Linked DNA regions of Homo sapiens: regions 1, 3 and 4 are each linked to region 2. The links are contacts of gene promoters, found by promoter capture Hi-C in blood cells and fetal thymus (Javierre and others, 2016). All regions are on one chromosome and are shown on one strand. Each heading gives the region's core, a stretch centred on a gene start or on the middle of the fragment in contact. The rest is flanking DNA. Distances are from core to core; before and after follow the strand shown.

Region 1 (4,707 bases), core at 992-3,491, 1.2 Mb before region 2:
AAAGACTCTGTCGAAACTCGCTCCGTTTTATGGAGGAGAATTTAAATGGTATTGCCACCATTTAACTAATTTTTCCTGAACTGGTAGTGATTCTGCAGTTCTATCTGCAACTGTCACCCAGTTCTAGTCTCCTTTTAAAACATCACACATTCGTGGGGCAGTTGGCGGGGGTTATTCTGCAGCCAAATAATGTGAAGCTAACTAGAACTGAACCAATGCTCATTTGGCAAGGACACCTGAACTCTGAAGCACTTCGTAAACAGCTGATTATTTCTAGTAATACTCCTGTGAAGTTTCAGTATTGAGCCATCCACTGTATTTCATTGCCAACTATATGTCGCCTTAAAAACAAGAAAAGTGCAAGACAGTTCCCTGGTTATTTGAGTCAGAGTCTCGCTCTGTCGCCCAGGTTGGAGTGCAGTGGCACAATCTCGGCCCACTGCAACCTCCACCTCCTGGGCTCAAGCGATCCTGCCACCTCAGCCTCCCGAGTAGCTGGGACCACAGGCGGGCGCCACCACGCCAGGCTATTTTTGTATTTTTTGTAGAGACCGGGTTTCGCCATGTTGCCCAGGCTGGTCTCGAACTTCTAAGCTCAAGTGATTCGCCCGCCTCGGCCTCCCAAAGTGCTGGGATTACAGGCGTGAGCCCCGGCGCCTGGCCAGTTCCCTGGTTAAAAAAAACTCGCAAATGTAGTCCAATTCGTCTTAAGTGTAAATACCTACCACCTGGGGCAAGACCCAACTTAAAAGGGAGGGGCGCCTCACAACAGTTAACCTGGCACCAGTGATTTGGTCCGAGAATCTTAGGCTTTTAAAGCTCAAGTCCAAACCTTTATTCTACAAATAGATTTTAAATTAAGGGCTTATGGTCTGGTTATAATCGCTAACTCTTACACTGTACTATGTACTTAGTACAGTTCTAAGTGCTTTACACCTATTTACTCCTTTAATCCTCCCAAAAAACCTGAAGCCGAGTGAAGCCAAGTAGTTTGCCCAAGGTAACACAGATATCAAGTGACGAGGTTAGAATTCAAATCCAAGCAGCATAGCTTCAAAACCTAGAGTCTTAAACCACCTGACTCTACTGCTCTTCTAGGACTCAGAGTTCTAATGTGAGAAAAGAATCCTCTATAGAGCTTTCTTTCAATTCCACCATCGCAAATGAATTGCAAACCTGTGACTCAAAAGTTCTTCCTGTGTGCAACCTTAAGTAATCTGACTTTTACATCCAAAATGGGTAACCTCTCTGGAAAACTAAAAGATGCAATGGCCAGTCTGAAAAGAACTCATGCTTCCCGTTGTTAGTGGGGTTCTGTTGTGTTGTTTTTTAATTGCAACACCTGAAACGCCTTAAAACACAAGTAAACAGGCTATCAGCCATTTTCCTGAGAACAGCAAACACCTATTACACTTTCATGATGCCTAAATTGATGAATCTGAGCTAAATACAGGAACGGCTGTCTTTTTCCCAGCTGTCTCTAATATATTTGGAAGACGGTAGACTCAGTTTATGCATGTGAATGTATGTGAGAAATGAGGGGGAAGTGGAGGGTGAGGAGGGGGAAGTGGAGGGTGAGGAGGGGGAAGTGAAGGGTGAGGAGGGGGAAGTGGAGGGTGAGGAGGCTATTCACTCCTCCACCTCTCCAAAGCGGGGCGACTCAGACTCAGACCCTGCTGCTAGAACTTAAAACCAGTATCACACCATTTCTGCCTTGGCCGGCTTCAGTGCCTCTCCAGGCTGTAGGGAGGTGGCTACGTGGCGCTAAGAGGACTTCCCCCAGCCAGAGAGGAGGTGGCAGCCCCAGGTGGTGGCATCCCCTCGCCCGGGGCCCCGCGACAGGGGGCGCCAGGACTTCCCGGGGATCCCCCAGGAGGGCAAAGTCTGAAGTGGCTAGCCTGGAGCCGCAGTTGGGCCAGGGCCTGCCTAGCAGCCCCTCACAGCCTCTGCGACCACTCCTGCCAAACCAACCTCCCAGCCTAAAGGGTTAGCCGACGCGCCGGGGACGGGGCCGGGCTCCTGAGGCAAAGGCACCCAAGACGAACGCTATATTCTGTGGGACACTCACCAGGTTGAGGGGTCCTTCCATTACTTCCATAGACCCCGGGGTAAGCGGCGGCCTTAGGAAGGGGAGTAGTGGCGCCGGGGAACATGGAGGGGACTGCAAGGGAGCTCGACGCAGCCGCGGAGACTGCGGCCCCTCTCTGCGCCCCAAGAGCCAGCGATAGGCGCTGAAGGAGCAACAACCTCACCACTTCCTCCTCCGGCGCCGCGCCGCGGGCCCGCCCCCTGCGCCACCGCCGAGGCCACGCACGGCGCCATGACGTCACACGCGCAAAAGGCTGGTTCAAGGTGGGAATGAGGACAGGCAGTGGGTGGGGCCCAGGGAAGGCGGGGCACCAGCTGATGTACGCTTGCGAGCGGTCAATCTTTCCTCTCGCGAGAAGCGTTAGTTTAGGTTCTTAAAGTCTACACTGAAGTCACGTGAGGAGGTACAGCCTTGCTGTTGAAGACTTGAAATGGCTGTCTTCTGCAATTAGCTTCTCACGTTTCCTTTTAGACTGACTTTTCCTTAAATCTGCTAATCGTTACACCGTTACTTGTGGTCCTGTCCACACCTTTATCATTGTACATGATTCATTTTTTCAAAAGGCCGATTTGAGCAATTCTAGACCATGCACTGGACTAACCCCCCTAGAGGTCAGCACACTCGAATGATTTAGGGCTCTGCCCTCAAGTTGCTCACAAACTGATAGGGAAACAATTTTGGTCTAGCCAAATATAATACTGCATTCATTTAACAATTATGTGCCAAACAAAAGCTAGGTTCGTTCTGTCATGGAATTCACTGACAAATAGTTGTGATTTATGCTGGAAAGGGAACACATAGGGAGCTGTGATAGAGTAACCAAGGTGGAGTTGGGTGGTAAAGGAAAGCCTTTCATGGGGGGCGTGATTTTTTTTGAGAAAGTGTCTTGCTGACGCAATCTCCACTCACTGCAACCTCCCTCTGCCCGCCCCCTGCCCCAGGCGATCCTCACACCTCAGTCTCTTAAGTAGCTAGGAACTACAAGTGCTCAGGCCAGGTTAATTTTTGTATTTTTTGTAGAGATGGGGTTTCGCCATGTTGCCTATGCTGATCTTGAACTGCTGAGCTCAAGTGAGCTCAATGATCCGCCCTCCTGGACCTCACAAACTGATGGGATTATAGGCATGAGCTACCGCACCTGGCTAAGGGCGTAATCTTTAAGATTAAACCTTAAAATGCCAGTTAAACAAAGACCCTTCTCGACAAAGGAAATGTCTTATGCCTCAACTCTAAAGGCGGGGAGGTCGGGTGGCGGGAGCTGCAGCATTTCAGAGAGATGCAAAAGAAGATACCAGAGAGATAGGAAACTTCCAAAACATAGGTGTCCTTGCAGTGCACAATGAAACATTTGAATTTTACTCAAAGTGCATTGGGAAATAAGTAAAGGATATTAAGCTAGAGAATAATCTGCTTTAATTTACAGTTTTGAAAAGATTAATTTCCCTGTAATGTGAAGAATAGATTGTGGAAGGCCTAAGGAAAAAGAACCAAGACAAGCTAGTTGATTGACTAATTATGGGCGCTCAGACTGGAATGGAAGTAGGGAAGATTGGGTCATGCATCCACTCATTACATAGTTATCATGTTTCTACCATGTGCCGGAAACCTTGGAAGAGAAGTAGATATATTCAAGATATATTTTTGGGCATCAGGTTGAGAGGAGTTAGTGATGGAATGGCAGTAAAGCATACAGAAAATGGAAGAATCAAATCTCGTATTTAAACAACCAAGTGGCCTAGCACACTGGCTCACCCCTGTAATCCCAGCTCTTTGGGAGGTCAAGGAGAGCAGATCACTTGAGGCCAGGAGTTTGAGACTGGTCTGGCCAACGTGGTGAAACTTCATCTCTACTAAAAGCACTAAAACGTAGCCAAGTGTGGTGGCGCGTGCCTGTAATCCCAGCTACTGGGGAGACTGAGGCAGGAGAATTGCTTGAACCTGGAAGGCAGAGGTTGCAGTGAGCTGAGACCAATCACACCACTGCATTCCAGCCTGGGTGACACAGAGAGACTCTGTCTCTAAAAATAAAAAAATAAAAAAGTAAACAACCAAGTGGACAAGATAGTGAGAGACAGGACTAGCTGGATTTCCTAGGCCAACTAAGAATTCCTAAACCTAGCTGGGGAAGGTGACCACACCCACATTTAAACACAGGGCTTGTAACTCAGTTCACACCCGACTAATCAGGTAGTAAAGAGGGCTCACTAAAATACAAATTAGGCTAGAAGCAGAAGGTAAAGAAATAGTCAAATCATATATCGCCTGAGAGCACAGGGGGAGGGACAATGATCAGGATATAAACCCAGGCATTCGAGCAGGGAGTGGCAACCCCCTTTGGGTCCCCTCCCATTGTATGGGAGCTCTGTTTTCACTCTATTAAATCTTGCAACTGCACACTCTTCTGGTCCATGTTTGTTACAGCTTGAGCTGAGCTTTCACTCACCGTCCACCACCGCTGTTTGCTGCCATCACAGACCCGCCGCTGACTTCCACCCCTCTGGATCCATCAGGGTGTCCACTGTGCTCCTGATCCAGCGAGGCGCCCATTGCTGCTCCCAATCGGGCTAGAGGCTCGCCATTGTTCCTGCAAGGCTAAGTGCCCAGGGTTTGTCCTAATC
Region 2 (4,453 bases), core at 1,607-4,106:
TTTCTCAGGTATGGCTCATATAGCAGTGACGAAATGCACAGATCATTACAATGGTTCCCTTTCAATTCCCCATAATGAACAATTAAAAAGAAATCGTGTATTTAAAAATATATCTATTCACTGTCAACACTTCTAGCAGATGCAACGTTTGGCAAATATAGCCTTTATTCTTAAATCAGAATTCACCATTTAATTACACCAACAAAAATTAAAACTGTACCAAGTGGGGTCAACTCAGGGTCTTTAAAAAACATCCCAATTTCAATTCCCCGCCCCCCAAAAAAGAGTGACCACAAAATATCCCATAAAACACTGAATAATTTCCTCCTGGACTTAGTCAGAAGTCTGTTAAGCACCAGTTCTTTTCTGGATATTTAATCCTTCCCTTTTCCAGATCACAGGCCATGTTGAAGTAATAAATTTGAAAAGCAAATAATAAGAAATCAGGAGGGGGAGAGGGAGGGGGAGGAAGACAGCTGCGCAGGAAAGTTGGGTCGGGGGAGGGGGCCGAGCCAGACCTTGGGAGGGGGAAAGAGCTCAACCTGTTGGTAGGTTGCAGGATTTTTCACAGTATTTCCAAACAACACCTTTTTAAAATTGCAGGCGGACGTCGGGAAATATGAACATTTAAAAACCAAAGCTGGCCGGGGAGGGTGGAGGGGGGAGGTGAGCGGGGAGGTGGGAGGGGCTTATTTCCGAAAAGGCAGATTCGAGGGCGAACGTTTCGACGAACTCCAGTAATTAACCGGCATAGACCACTGACGAGTAATTCGATCCTGGGGAGAGGGAGTGAACTAGCAATGCCAAAAGTACTATCAACTCGATCAAACCGAGGAATTCTGGAAGGACTGGCAGCTCCGAGCCCCGGGATGAGTTAAACGGGAAACCATTCATTTAACAAAAAGATCCTTAGATCCTTACACCTACCTCGAAAGCTCGAGAGCCTGGCACAGCACTAGCTGCCCTCAAAAGTCTGTTTGATTACCCTGCTCTCGCTTTGGCAACACAAAGCCTCGCCAGGCGGCAGTGCGCCCTCCCTCCCCGCTGCGCCGTGGGCACAGACTCCCCAAAATAGTTCCCCTCGGTAGGTACCACGGCGCTGAGGTCGGTCAGCTGAGGAGGGGAGCCCGCAGAACTGCGGTCACACATGAAATGACAGAGCCGAAGGGAGGCGGCCGCCCCGGCGCCCAGTGACAGCGGGCTCACCTCCGGCGTCCTCCCGGGAGCGCGGCGAGCGCCCCCGCGGCCGCCCAGAAACGTGCCGGGGAGGCTCTGTCCCCTCCCCGCCCTCCCCGGGAGCGCCGTCTGGGCACGGAGAACGCTGGACCCGCAGGGCCAGTGGGCGAGCACACACCCCTCTGCCCTCCCCTCCCCCGCCCCCGTCCCACACACCCCCAAAGATCGCGCAGGAGGACGTCCACTTTGCGTGGAGTAATTGCAAACTAGAACATCAAATGGCTTGTCCGGGGGGAGGGGGAGTGGGCGAGAGATAGTTGTTAATGCTTAACGTGTTTGTGCCTGTTACACCACCGCTTTGAAATCCGCCCGGGCAGATCTGCAAGTTATTTGAATGTATTATTCCAGTACCTGTCATTTATCACTTTATTCAACACGTCTTTGCCAACTCAATAGCTTTTGATCTCATTCTGCCTCCATTTCGTAATTTCCGCCCTCTTAAACATATCAAATACTTACTTTGAAAAAAGAACAATATCGAAACCCACCGAAAGAAATCCACCCAGACACGACCGAGCCAGACACGAAGGTAAATTTTCAAAAGGCAAAAAATATAAAAAGCATGTGATGTTCAAGAGGCAATAGCAGGAGAGCAAATGAACACACACACACACATACACACACACACACACACACACACACACATCCTTGAACAAAACCCTTCTCGAACAAGTTATTTGATCTTGACTAAAATCAGCAGTTGGATCCTCTTTGTAAAGCTGACAGCCAAACTCTGACAATGGCAAAATACTCGAGCCCCAGCTAGTGGCGCTACCCCTTTAAAAAAGGAGTCGATCCTGCTTGCCTGCAGAAGTGAATACAGTATTTTCAAGCTTGCCCTGTAATAAGCATTACTAGGGGGAAAAATAATAAAGAAAGAAGAGGGGGACAGACAGGTTTACCACCTCGCCATGGTCGCTATTTCTGCCCTGGGGAGTGTCTTCTGGGAGGAAATAAAGTTTAGAGCTGGATAAAAGTTGCCGGCTGGTCCTCTCTTCCCACAACAGCTGGAGCTCCGCTATGCAAATCGGATCCTTTGGCGTACATCTTACAAAGAAAAAGTCGCCAAGGGACAAAATTCTTGGTTTGCCTTCAAGGTGGAATTGAAAAGCCTTGTAGAAAATGTAAGGTCCGTGCAAGCCACACGGTGAGCCGACCCACTGCAGGGGGGGAAAAAAACACCAAATAAATAATGTAGCCATCAGAGCACAAACATCTATTCCCAGACACATTTACACACAGACATCCACTCTCTTAATACAGACGACCCAACAGATATAACGCTGGGTGGAAAAATAATAGCACCCACAAATTTTCTGCTTCCCTAAAAAAAAAAAAAAAAAAACTCAGGGCCCCCCACCGCCACTTCTACCCACCTCCCCATTTGAGGCGGTAAAATTACATTATGTATGTATGATCAGTGCAGGGATTTTTTTAAACAATAAAAATGATTTTGGGGGATGCAGAGGGTAAAAGTTTGGTGAAAAGTTTGTGGGGGGTGTGGGTGGGTGCAGAGGTGTGGGTGAGCTGGGGGGTTGGGGGGTGCCGGGGGGTGCCGGGATCGGAGGAGCGGAGGAGAGCGAAATACCTGGAGTGAGTTGGGCTCCATCTCGACGTTCTGAATTGATTGAACTCAACATTCTCTCCAAACTTGTTGGCTTGAATGGATTGCATCAGGTCCTGGCAGGGAAACGCATTCTCTGCCTTCAGCCGGCGTAATGTCTCAATATAAAACTGAGCTCTTGCCTCCCTTCGGGCACCGAAATGATTGAAAATATGTCCTAATATTTCTATAACGACTCAATTTTCAGCTCCTGAAAAAACTATGTGGGTTTTCTTCCAAAGATGGATTGATCAAATTCATAATCGAGAGAAAGGCGCCATACGATCTCGGCGGGAAGAGGATGGATCAAGGCAAAAAACACACAAGAAGATTTGTAAAAATAAAAAGCACCCTAAAACTGTGTGGAGATGTGATTCCTCTCTCTCTAACCGCTCCTGTCTGGGATATCGTCTGATGAGATTTTTGGAGGAGAGGAGGGGTAGCGAGCTCCACTGTGCATCTGACAGGACCTGCTTGTATATGTCTAATATAAAGAACATTTCCTGCAGAGATTCCGGGGCGCTGCTCCTCTTTCTAATGCTTCTTAGCAGATTTGCTGTTATTAGACATGTAGATTTGTTTGATAGTTAAATTACGCTTCCTCACTGCCATGTTTTCGAGAACTAATCTGTTAAATTATCTTTTGATGCCTATTTACATGGAAGGGAAAAGTGGGTTATCGATTATATAAACATATAAATATTAATGCATTTGTTCGCTTCGCAAAAAAATACTCAGCAAAAAAAAAAGAGACAAGTGAGCAGTGCACACACATCTTAGGATTTCGCAAACAATATTGAACGGACAGCGACTGCATTTAGGGACTGGAACAATAAACGATGCATGATAAATCAATAAATGCGAGAAGCGAGTCTGCTCAGAATATGAATTCAGGCTCCCGGTTCTGCGTGTGCATTCTTTAATTTTGAAGTATATACACTAGTACGTGTTTACAATGCTGATGGACGCCAAGGGCGCTCTCAAATGATAATGTGTTTATATAACCCAGCGCTACAGGAATAATATACCGACTCCTACCCCACCCCCATCCCCTCCCCCGCCAAAAAAGGGAGGGGAGCTTCCTCAATAATAGTTTGAAACTGAAAAAATCCATTTGCAAACTAGTTAAATACAACCAGAAATTAAGCTGTTGAAAACCGGGGGCATGAACCGTAAGACAATAAAGGCTTTAAATGTGTATATTTATTGTTCTGGAGCCCTGGAGCATTGCGAGGTTTGCATGCACGGCTATTATGCAAACACAGAGAAACTTAAGAGCGACAGAACAAGGAACAGGCAGAGACTGCAAAGCCCTCGCAAGCTCCGACCCAGCTGCCGGTCCTCCGCCAGGCTAGATTGCATTTTCGCAGTGTTGATTTAAAATGGTGTACTCGCTTCCCCCACGTTCCCCCACCCCCTTCCCCGCTCTCCTCCCACTCCTTCCAGCACACCCCCCCTCCAGCTTTTATTATATTGGCACCAATCTTTCCAAAGTGGGTCTGGCATGCTAAAAAAGTAAACATGTACTATATGGGGAATAAGGTCTGTATAGTATGACAGTTGAAACTTGATCTGTGATAAAATTACAGGATGTTGAAATTACTAGTAAGCTAT
Region 3 (5,050 bases), core at 1,810-4,309, 1.7 Mb before region 2:
AAAATTATGGAAAAAGGAACCTGCAAGAAAAAAGCGATTGAGGGAATTTGTATTCTGCAATAAAACCCAGAGTAAACTCTTAAGATAAAATGGCGACGTCATTCTGGGAGAGGTAAAACTGGTATGTCCATGATCCTTATCAGAAGTATCATGATTGAACAAACCTGAAAGTATAGATCAGAAGTTTCACTTGTTTCTCAGTTATTGAATATGTATCTTTGTGTACATGCTATCTTTGCAAAAATGGAGAAGATGATGTAAATTGTACCAATGAATATGTAAACATACAGTGACAATATTAAACTTATAAAAGTTTTAAAAAAAATTAGACCTAAGAGGAAGGGCTGATCCACTGGATGTGGAGTGTGAGGGAGGTAATTTAGGGAGATGAGGGAGCTGTGTTATTATTTGGGAAATATTTCTCAGGGAAGATGATGAGAAAAAAATTGCATAGGAGGCATCTGAAGGTAAAATGGGACTAGAGCCCTGACCACAAAGGCCACAGCTCTATCCTGAGGAACTTTCTGAGAACATGACAGGAGACCCACAAGAGGGCACACTTCTCTCTTCCAGCCAAAATTATGGACACCTTCCATTCCAGTCCCTTCTGCTGCTGAAAAGTCATCCTTCAGACCACGATCATAGACAAAAGAAGAAAATTCTACCTGTTTTGTAGGTATTAGGAAGACTCACAGGGTGATCTGTGTGTATACAGAATCTATACTATAGATAAGCCAGAAATAAATACATAGGTACCTCTTATTTTTAAAATATATATACCAATGTATATATTAATATATCCACTATATATATTGAAATATGTTGGCCGGGCACCGTGGCTCACACCTGTAATCCCAGCACTTTAGGAGGCTGAGGCGGGCGGATCACAAGGTCAGGAATTCGAGACAAGCCTGGCCAACATGGTGAAATCTCGTCTCTACTAAAAATACAAAATTTAGCTGGGCGTGGTGGCACACGCCTGCAGTCCCAGCTACTCGGGAGGCTGAGGCAGGAAAATTGCTTGAACTCGGGGGGTGGAGGTTGCAGTGAGCCGAGATCATGCCATTGCTCTCCAGCCTGGGTGACAGAGTGAGACTTTATCTCAAAAAAAAAAAAAAAAAAAAAGGAAAGAAATACGACTGGGCGTGGTGGCTCATGTCTGTAATCCCAGCACTTTGTGAGGCTGAGGCAGGCGGATCACGAGGTCAAGAGATCGAGACCATCCTGGCCAACATAGTGAAACCCCATTTCTACTTAAAAAAAACAAAACAAAACAAAACAAAAAAACAAAAAACAAAAAACTAGCTGGGCATGGTGGCATGCGCCTTGTAGTCCCAGCTACTTAGGAGGCCAAGGCAGGAGAATCACTTGAACCTGGGAAGCAGAGGTTGCAGTGAGCCAAGATCATGCCACTGCACTCCAGTCTGGTGACAGGGCGCGACTCTTGTCTCAAAAAAAAAAAAAAGAAAGAAATACGTTAATATATACCTGGTTATAGACACTTTACCTTGCTTTATAATTCAGTACTGGTCTGAGTTCCTTAGCCTCTCTTCACTCCATGGTTTTTTTTTCTCTTTCTCCTTTTTTTTTTTTTTATTAAGAGACAGGGTCTCACTATGTTGCCCACACTAGTCTCAAACTCCTGGGCTCAAGCGATCCTCCTGCCTCAGCCTCCCAAAGTCTGGGATTTCAGGTGTGAGCCACCACACTTGGTCATGATATTTTGTCAAGCCCAAAGCCTCTCAAAGTCCTTCCCCTCCTGGTCAGGGCTCTGGAATACACAGAAAATACCTGGACACAGCTACCTTTGAAACCAAAGAGTTTGAGTGCAGGAAGGAAGAACTAGTCCAACCCTTCTTTAACTTTAAAGCAAAGGAAGCTGAGCCTGAAAAATTTAAAAGACTCCTATAGTTTCAGCAGCTCCCCTCTATACGCAATAGCCCTGACCTTTTCAGAATTGCACTTTCTGTGCATCTAATATATTTTTGAGTTCCCAAATTTTCACTTAATACAGAGGTTGCCTTGATCAGATTCTTCTAAAATTCCAAAGGAAGAAGGGGCTACACAGAAAAAGGAAGAGGATGTTTTCAACATACATCTGTTAATACCTTATCATCACCCTAGTGAAATTTTCTGAAAGAACGAACAATCTTCTTTGGGAAGTGGTTATAATGGGAAACCCAGAAGTCAAATCCATGTTTTAAAAGGCTTTCACAGTATGACGAAAGACTAGGTATGCATCATTATCATTTCATCCAATTTCCTCTAGTTAGACTGAAAGCCCTGCCAGGGCAAGGACTGGAGATGTGCCTAGAGTGTTGTGGGTTTTATTCATTCAACGAATGTATTAAAACTCATACTCCTTTTAAAAAAGGATCTCTGGAGGCTACCCAGTTACCATTGCCCACACCTTTCATTTTGGTGGTAAACAGTCTACTCACATTGATAATAACAATTATGTTCTTCCTATGCATTAAACTTTGTGTTAAGCACTTGATTTGCAGTATCATTAATCCTTAACCCTTACACCACTCCTATGCTACTCTAAAATATACAGTTACATTTTAGAAATGATGAAGCTTGCCAGGCATGGTGGCTCACGCCTGTAATCTCAACACTTTGGGAGGCTGAGCTGGGAGGAATGCTTGAGGCTAGGAATTTCAGGCGAGCCTGGGCAACATAGTGAGTCCCCTATCTCTAAAAAACAAAAATAAAAAATTAACCAGGTGTGGTGGCATGCGACTGTAACCCTTGCTGGTTGGGAGGCTGAGGCCAGAGGATAGTCTGAGCCCAGGGGTTTGAGGCTGCAACGAGCTAGGATCGTGCCATTGTACTTTAGCCTGCGCAACACAGTGAGACCCTGTCTCTAAGCAGCACCAGGGGCAAAAGACATTATGCAATTTGCCACAATTCACAGAAATAAGCAATGGAAGAGCTCATATTTGAAAACTTACCGCAGGCATTTAGTATCCTGTTTTGTTTTGATTCTTAGTGAAGCCTGGCAGTCTTTGGGAGAGGAAACCCCAAGGCTTGTTCAGAGTTTCAGCTGGTGAATAAGGTGGGACCCATTCATGCACTTCGCCCCCACCGGGAGATGTGCCATAAATTGAAGACTGTGAATAGTCACTGGTTTTGTAAAAGACTATGTGTCAACTGGGACCATCCGATGAAAAAGGACCAACATCATTTAACATAATTTTCTTGTTGGTTATGATTTTTTCTCTAAGGATATTTCCCCCCTCTGGTTTTCTAAATTGTCACAAAACATTTGCGCAACGACCTGGGGTGTTATGACACCCTTAGATGAAAATCTGAGGACAGCTTGGATGAAGAATAACTTTTAAGTAACAACATAGTCCGCCCTCGCCTTGGTTAAACAAATCGAATGGAAACGATTTGTTCAAGATGGGAGCATCAAATAGACGCAAGCTCTTCGAAACAGCCCTGATTCCCTGGCAAACGCTGTTGCTTAGCGAAACGTCAAAACCCCTGCGTGCAAACAAACGTCTGAGGGGCGCACCCGCCTTGAGCAAGCTTCTCCCGGCAGCTCGGGCTTTGGAGAACGTCTGGAGGACATTGGTAGCTCCTCCCTCTCCGGTTAAGGACTTGGTAGGGGGAAGAGGGCAGAGGATCCAGGATCTCCGGGTCGGGTCATCTGGGTTGACGCGTCCTGACACCCAGGACGGTGCAGGGGAGCTCCGGGGCGAGTCGCTTCGCGCCAGGAAAGGCCTGCGTCTCAGCGCTGGAACAGAGGGGAGAAGCAGAGGGGAGCCCCGCCCTCGGTCCAGTTCTGGAGCAGTGCGCCCCTCCCCCGCCCCGGAAACGTCCCCGCCGCCCCTCCCTCCACCACCACCTCCCGGGGACCTAGGTTGTAAAATCCCACGCAGTGGGGCGGGCACGGTGACGGGGGTGGGGCGGGTGGCGTAAGGCGCCACCGCCCACTGGCACGGCACCAGCGCCCTCCAGCACCCAACCGCCGCCTCCCTCTCCCCGGCGCGGCTCCAGCCTCCCCCCGCCAGCCCAGCCCCCCCAGCGTGGCTCCAGCCTCACTGCACCCACCCACCCTGCACCGCAACCTCCCAGCACCCTAGCTGCCCGGCCGGCCCAGCTCGGCTCTGGAGGGCGTCCCTCGCATCTGGACTCCCTCTGCCCGAGGGAGGAGCCGCAGCCGCGGTCGCCCCGCCCCTGGCGTTCTTTGACTCCCCCGGCCTCTTGGACATCTGGGTGCGGGGGTTAGTGCATCAGATGTGGCTCCTGGGCCGCCAGATGTGCGCGTTCCCCGCCCGGGGCAGGCGGCCGGCGAGTCTGGGAGGACGCGTGGGAGGGGCTGGGAGTTTTCCCTCCTAGCAGACTTAAAAGCCAGCAGAACCTCCAGCCCCCTGGGCTCCCGGCCTGGGCCTCCTGGGTCTCCGGGACGCACTGCCCAACGGAAAAGTTTTCAGCCCAGTCTGTGCCTCGCCGCCAAGCAGCCCTTGGGGCTTCTCAAAGTGGTAGAGAAAATAGGACAGCTCTACAGGATGCCCCAAAGAAAACCCTCATTTGTCGACCAGGCGACCTTAGTGCTGGCGTGGGACTACAGCTGCGCAGCCAGCAAACCCCAGTTGGGGGAGGGGGAGAAGTGGCAGTAGAGTTCGCATCTGGGGCTTGCTCTAAAGCGCTCTTTGACTGCTTTTGGATTCCATATTTGAAGTTGAGAGTCGTATTCCACCTGGTACAGGCAGTTCAGGGCAGGAGAAAAGCCAAGTGAACTCTGTGACTCAATCCCCTTGGAATGTGCCTGGAATAATAATAGGGACTTGAAAGGGTTTTATGGCCGAGGTGGCTAGTGGAGAGCAGTCTCCTACGCCTTGCAGTTGGCGGTCGGCCGAGGGGGGCAGTATTGCCTTATGCAGAGCTTCTGCGCCTGCAAACGGGACAAAAATAGTCGGAGCATCTGGTTTAAATCAACCAAAAAGCATTTCTATCAGCTTAATCCACCGGCCTACAGAACTGACAGAACAGGACAAGCCAAATATATTCCCGGTACTCTTTTAACACTCCAATAATAGCT
Region 4 (5,072 bases), core at 1,635-4,134, 1.6 Mb before region 2:
GGTTGTCTCAGTGGGTTAGAAAGAATCAAGTAAATTCTACCTCCTGGTGTGAAAAAGGTTTCCAAGTTTGTGTAGATCCTGTGATTGCTCTTTCATGTTTAGAGAGAGAAACTGAGTAAAGAGGAAAAATAGAATGATGTTTATATTCTCTACAAGTGTGCTTTCTAATGTGCTAATGTGTTCACGGCTCACAAAATAACAGTTCCTGACACTTGAGAAATACATTTCTTTTCATGACATTTTCTTCCTCACATTATTGCTCCCTGTCGTTAGCCTCAAACCTTACATTCTGTAGCTCAAGTACTTTAACTGGAGAGAGGCTTTAATCCCCTCTCTCCAGTTAGGGAGCCTCCTAAGGAGTCTCCTTGTCTTCCAGGTCTCCATTGCCAATCATTTCACAGAAGGGCAGAGAATCTTCCAAAGCAAAGCTGTTGCTGCCTTATAACATTTACCCCTTCTTTCTTGAAAACAGGCCCCAGGCTACCTTTCCAGCTTGCTTTTTCCCCACCCGAGTCCCTCACGCCCACTGTAACTAATCTGGGCTTTTCCTCCTCTGGGCTTTGGCTCACGCCGGTCCCTATATCTGGAATCCTTTCCTTTTTCATCTTTGGCTGCCTAGATTCTGTCCATTCTTTTTTGTTTTTTTTCTGAGGCACAGTCTCACTCTGTGGCCCAGGCTGGAGTGCAGTGGCACGATCACGGCTCACTGCAGCCTTGACCTCCTGAATTTGAGCGATCCTCCTACCTCAGTCCCTGAGTAGCTGGGATTACAGGTGTGAGCTACTGTGACTAGCTAATTAAATTTTTCTTTTTTTGTGGAGACAAGGTCTCGCTATGTTGCCCAGGCTGGTCTCTAACTCTTGTGATCAAACAATCTTCCCTCCTTGGCCTCCCAAAGTGCTAGGATTACAGGTGTGAGCCACTCTACTGGGCCTATTCTTTAAGGCCCATCTGAAACGTAATCTCCCTTGCCTTTTCTGATTCTCCAACCAGATATCCCTTCCTTGTCCAACACTGGGTATTAGAGTGGGTGTAACTTTTACAAGAGTTGACATTTGGACCTGTACTGCAGATATCTGTGCACCCAAACTGTCAATTCCCATGATCAACTACGTGTTACTGACCTTTGTGTTATAGGTAGCACCTAGAACAGACATTCATATTCATTGGCAATTATGAAAAACAAAAGTCTAAAAGTGCTTCACAATTTTCTGTCAGCTGAAGAACTGGTCAAAGAAATCCAGAGGCTTTTTTTTTTTTTTTTGTAAAGTACAGCTTCTTAATAGGGCACTTGATTTTCTAGGTGTGGACACAACAGTTGATAGACATCTACTAGGTCAAGAAAGGTATGCCTGAATTAGATAAATGACAGACTCAAAAGAGAGGCCAGGAAAAGGCTGAAAAACAATCTGAAGGCATCTGTGGTATCCTTTTGTTTATATCTTGATTTTTAGTTTCGTACAGGGGAACACAGGAAGCTCTGAGGCTTTAAAACTAGAAACTTTGCGATTTAATCAAATGAAAAATTTTGAATGCTGTGCTGCAAATCTGATTAAATAGGGCTAGTAATTCACTTCCAAACAAAATAAACCCCAAACTCAGAAAATCTAGCTCCTTTTAACAAAAAGTCTGGTAATGTTATTTTTCCTAAATTCTAAAGCTTATCAGAGAAGCCTGCCCCCTCACATAAACATTTTTTCATATACCTTTATGAAACCTTCTGAGATAACACTACTACAGAGGTGAATAATGAATTCATAGGCCCTAGCTGTAACTACGTCATTGTTTACTTGGTGACTTTTTTTTTAATCGGGGAGAGGGGTAAAATGGAGATGAGAGAAAATCAGTTTAAACTGTATTCAAATACATTTACACGATTAACACCACCAACTCAAGGAATTTCTTTTTCTTACAGACCTGTAGCACTTGTTGGTAGGAGAACAATGAAATGAACCCATAATTTGAACAAAGGCAACAGGCACCTGCAGCCTTTCAATCACTTAGCAAATATTTCCGCCGAGACAGGGCCGAATTCGGGGATCTGGGCGAGCAGCCGGTGTCACCTTTCTCGGTAAGCTGCAAATCTTGGGAAAACTAGGACCCTTCCCAGGGATCCTGGGCTGGGAGCGGTCTCCGGTTTTTAGACAAATCTCTCCTCCTACCACACGTGACCGAATGGCAATCAGCCGCCAAGAGAGACACCGCAACGCATCAGCCGCGGGATACAAAGGCTCGGCACTGCCGTCGCATCCTCGGGAGGATCGCGGAGCCTCCCGCGCTCGGCGTCTGCGGAGCCTGCGCAGGGAGCAGCTGCGAGGCGCGCCGCTCCCGGGCCCGCAGGGCGGTGCCGCGCTGCGCGGGGAGCAGGAGCGGGGAGCGCGCGCCGCCTGCCCTGAGCGCCTGCCCACCCAGCGCCGCCGGAGCAGGGGCGCCGCGCCGCACCGCACGCAGCCGAGCAGCGCCACAGCCGCCGCCGCCGTCGCAGCCGCAGTCGCCGCAGCTAGGCCCTCGGCCGTCGCAGGGAGCTCCGCAGCGACGTGGACCAAGGTGAGGAAGCCGAGGGCTCCCCCAGACCCTCGGCAGGCCCGAGGCCGGGCTACCCCGTCCCCGCCCAGGCCCAGGCCTTCCCTTTCCTCTCGGCTCCTTCCCCTTCCCACAGCTCCCCTGGGCCTCGCGCCGGCTGCAGGGCGCAGTGAGAGGCACTTACACCACGGCTCTGGAGATCATCCAGGACACCATCTTCACGGGGGCTTGGGCCCCACGTCCGGGGCGGGTGGGCGCAGGGCGCTGCGGACCAGGCCGCCAACGGCAGGCCGCGCGCTTCGCCGGCTCCTCGCGCTCCCCGGGGCCGCGCTGGCGCCCTCAGGAGCCGGGCCCGGTGTGTGCGCGCGGCGGCCTGGGCTGCGCAGAGGTCGGTCCCCCGCCCGTCCCCGCCCGCCCCCGCCCGCCGGCCCGGCAGCCTAGTCCGGACAGCACCCCGCCCCTGCGCTCCGCTGATAGGCGGTGGCGGCGGCGCGTTGGCCCGGGCCAGGGCTGGGGCCAGGCGGCCGGGCTCCAGGGCTGGGCTGGCGGGATCCTAGCCCGCGCTGGACGGCCTCGCTGCCGCGGCCTTGGCCCCTGCGCTCTAACCAACCTTACCCTCCTTAGCTCTTTGGGACGCCCACACTCGCGGCGAGAGTGGGGCAGGAGGCTGAGGAAGGGTACTGGAGGGTAGGGATTGGCAGTGCCTGTGTGAAAAGTGAGATATTCGCAGGAACTCGGTGTCCAATAAAACTCTCGACCAGGCCCTGGTTTTGGAGAGCCAAGACTTTGAGGTGTGCCTGGCCACATCCGGTATCCTCAGTGTTTACGGAGGCCCAGCACCAAAGGCGTCCTTATATTACCACATTTTAAAGGAATCGTCGAGAGGTTCTTGCACAGGCCTCCGTGTGTGCCACGAGTCTCGTGGTGCAATGCAGGGAGGGACAGAGGAGGATTTCATGTTTGCAGTAGTGGGTGCAGTGATACCACTGTTCTGGGCCTCTTAGGGCACCTTTTCATCAGAGCATCTGCAAAGACTGTTTACAGACACGAATCTCCATTATTTCCCTGAGGCCTGCCAGATGTTCAAAGTAAAGGCTGGGTCTAGGATTCCTGACCTGTCTTAAGATTTACAACTATATTACAGCTGTAAGATTTACAACTGTATTTTTTGGAGGTTGGGTTACTGCTTACACCTTGCTGTTCTTGCAAATATCATTTCAAGGGCAGACTTTTAAAACTGTTTTTTTTTTTTTTTTGTGACAGTACCAAATTGAGAAAATGATGTTAAAGTTTAGATATTTTTATTTTTTCCAGTTAAGACGATAGTAAAAGATAATTCTAGTATTCAGATGGTGCGAAGAATAAAAGATGAAATGTAGGCTTGGAGCCTTTAATTAAAGTCCTAGAAAATATGATGGCTTTTGTGACCATACTGTAATTTTGTCTTCTTGTTCCTCAGTTTCCCTGTGATAAAAAGGGGGTAATAATACTGTAGTCTGTCTCTTGCCTTTCAAGGGTGATATGAGGCACTGCTAAATAATATGTTTAGGAAATACTCTGACTTGCATGGAAGACAATCAAAGGACACAACAGATTATCCTAAATTATTTTCAGTTCTCAGTCAATAAATTGGGTAATATTTCATTATTTAAGAAACAAGCTCAGAAGCTACTTTCTACTCTTGGGTTAGGTTCTTTTCGCTTATTAATTCATGTCAAGACTTTTTATTTCAGGAATTTGAGTAATAATTTGCATTTAACTCTGAATCTTTTATTTTTGGCCATTATTCAGCATTATTTGAGGATCAGGTGTGCTGCATAAGCACCAGTTTTTTGGCGAACTCTCTTGTTCAATAAAACTCAAATGAATTTGAATATCATTCAGATCCCTTCATGAAAGGTCCTGAAATAGCTTTACAGCCTTTACTTTTACTACTTTCACCCCCAACTCCTAATGTACCCGTTCCCTACCTCTCTTCTTTCAGCCAACCTGTATTTTCATGCTCAGTGCTTTTGCCCAGATTTCGTTTTTCCCTTAACACTTTGCTCCCCATTCTGTACCTATCAGAACTCTCATTTTTCAGTGGCCTGTGCCATGAAGACATCCTTGGTTTTCCTCAGGGACAATTATTCCTAATTTTGTCTGTGCTCTCATAATTTATTACTTGAATTTCTATTTCTTATCTGTGTCATTCTGCCTCTACCATGTCTAATGTACTGAATGGTAAAATGTTTGAGAACAGACATGGTGTATTAGATTTCTTTGTGTTTTCCAACTATCTAGCCTCAGATAGGGTAAACGTCCAATAAAAATTTGAATAATGTTTGTGAAATACAGTCACTCTTTAGGCATCAGATTTAAAAAATTTCAGCCACGTACATTGGAAGTCTCTTAAAAATGTCTTTCTTGCCTTTTTACTTTGGAGGTCATCATTGTGAATATTAATTATTTCAGCTAATCCTAGTACATTAATGCCTTCAGGGGTTGCTGAAGGCAACCTAGGTAGGATGGCTGGCTGCTCTCTGAAATGTCCCTAGACTGCTGTGCGT

Evidence for each region. Contacts are between HindIII fragments. The CHiCAGO score rates a contact against its expected background, and 5 or more counts as called.
Region 1: the fragment with the promoter of NRBF2 here is called in contact with the fragment with the promoter of ARID5B in region 2 in 6 of 17 cell types (naive CD8 T cells, monocytes, M0 macrophages and 3 more); the score reaches 8.5 in naive CD8 T cells.
Region 3: a contact is called between a fragment that was not itself captured here and the fragment with the promoter of ARID5B in region 2, in 1 of 17 cell types (fetal thymus). The highest score is 8.6, in fetal thymus.
Region 4: a contact is called between the fragment with the promoter of REEP3 here and the fragment with the promoter of ARID5B in region 2, in 2 of 17 cell types (fetal thymus and total CD8 T cells). The highest score is 8.4, in fetal thymus.

Annotation. Positions count from the first base shown.
Region 1 is chr10:63,130,862-63,135,568 of GRCh38, reverse strand. NRBF2 (nuclear receptor binding factor 2) reads right to left here and starts at 2,241. Exons shown (of 4, transcript NM_030759.5): 1 at 2,069-2,241. The coding sequence starts at 2,098. RefSeq lists silencers at 1,695-1,964, 2,175-2,424. The HindIII fragment of the contact is 9,214 bases long and covers 1-4,707 here.
Region 2 is chr10:61,900,102-61,904,554 of GRCh38, reverse strand. It overlaps ARID5B (AT-rich interaction domain 5B), which reads right to left and starts at 2,856. Exons shown (of 10, transcript NM_032199.3): 1 at 2,825-2,856; 2 at 2,142-2,396. The coding sequence starts at 2,845. RefSeq lists silencers at 1,105-1,424, 4,165-4,334 and an enhancer at 2,664-3,166. The HindIII fragment of the contact is 3,094 bases long and covers 2,072-4,453 here.
Region 3 is chr10:63,629,384-63,634,433 of GRCh38, reverse strand. It overlaps the pseudogene MRPL35P2. Among named protein-coding and RNA genes, the nearest start is that of REEP3, 110 kb to the right of the region's middle. RefSeq lists a silencer at 3,779-4,108 and enhancers at 4,579-4,628, 4,639-4,818. The HindIII fragment of the contact is 955 bases long and covers 2,582-3,536 here.
Region 4 is chr10:63,519,213-63,524,284 of GRCh38, reverse strand. It overlaps REEP3 (receptor accessory protein 3), which reads right to left and starts at 2,884. Exons shown (of 8, transcript NM_001001330.3): 1 at 2,708-2,884. The coding sequence starts at 2,739. It also overlaps a transcript of JMJD1C not described here. RefSeq lists a silencer at 2,199-3,248 and an enhancer at 3,639-3,688. The HindIII fragment of the contact is 3,716 bases long and covers 1,663-5,072 here.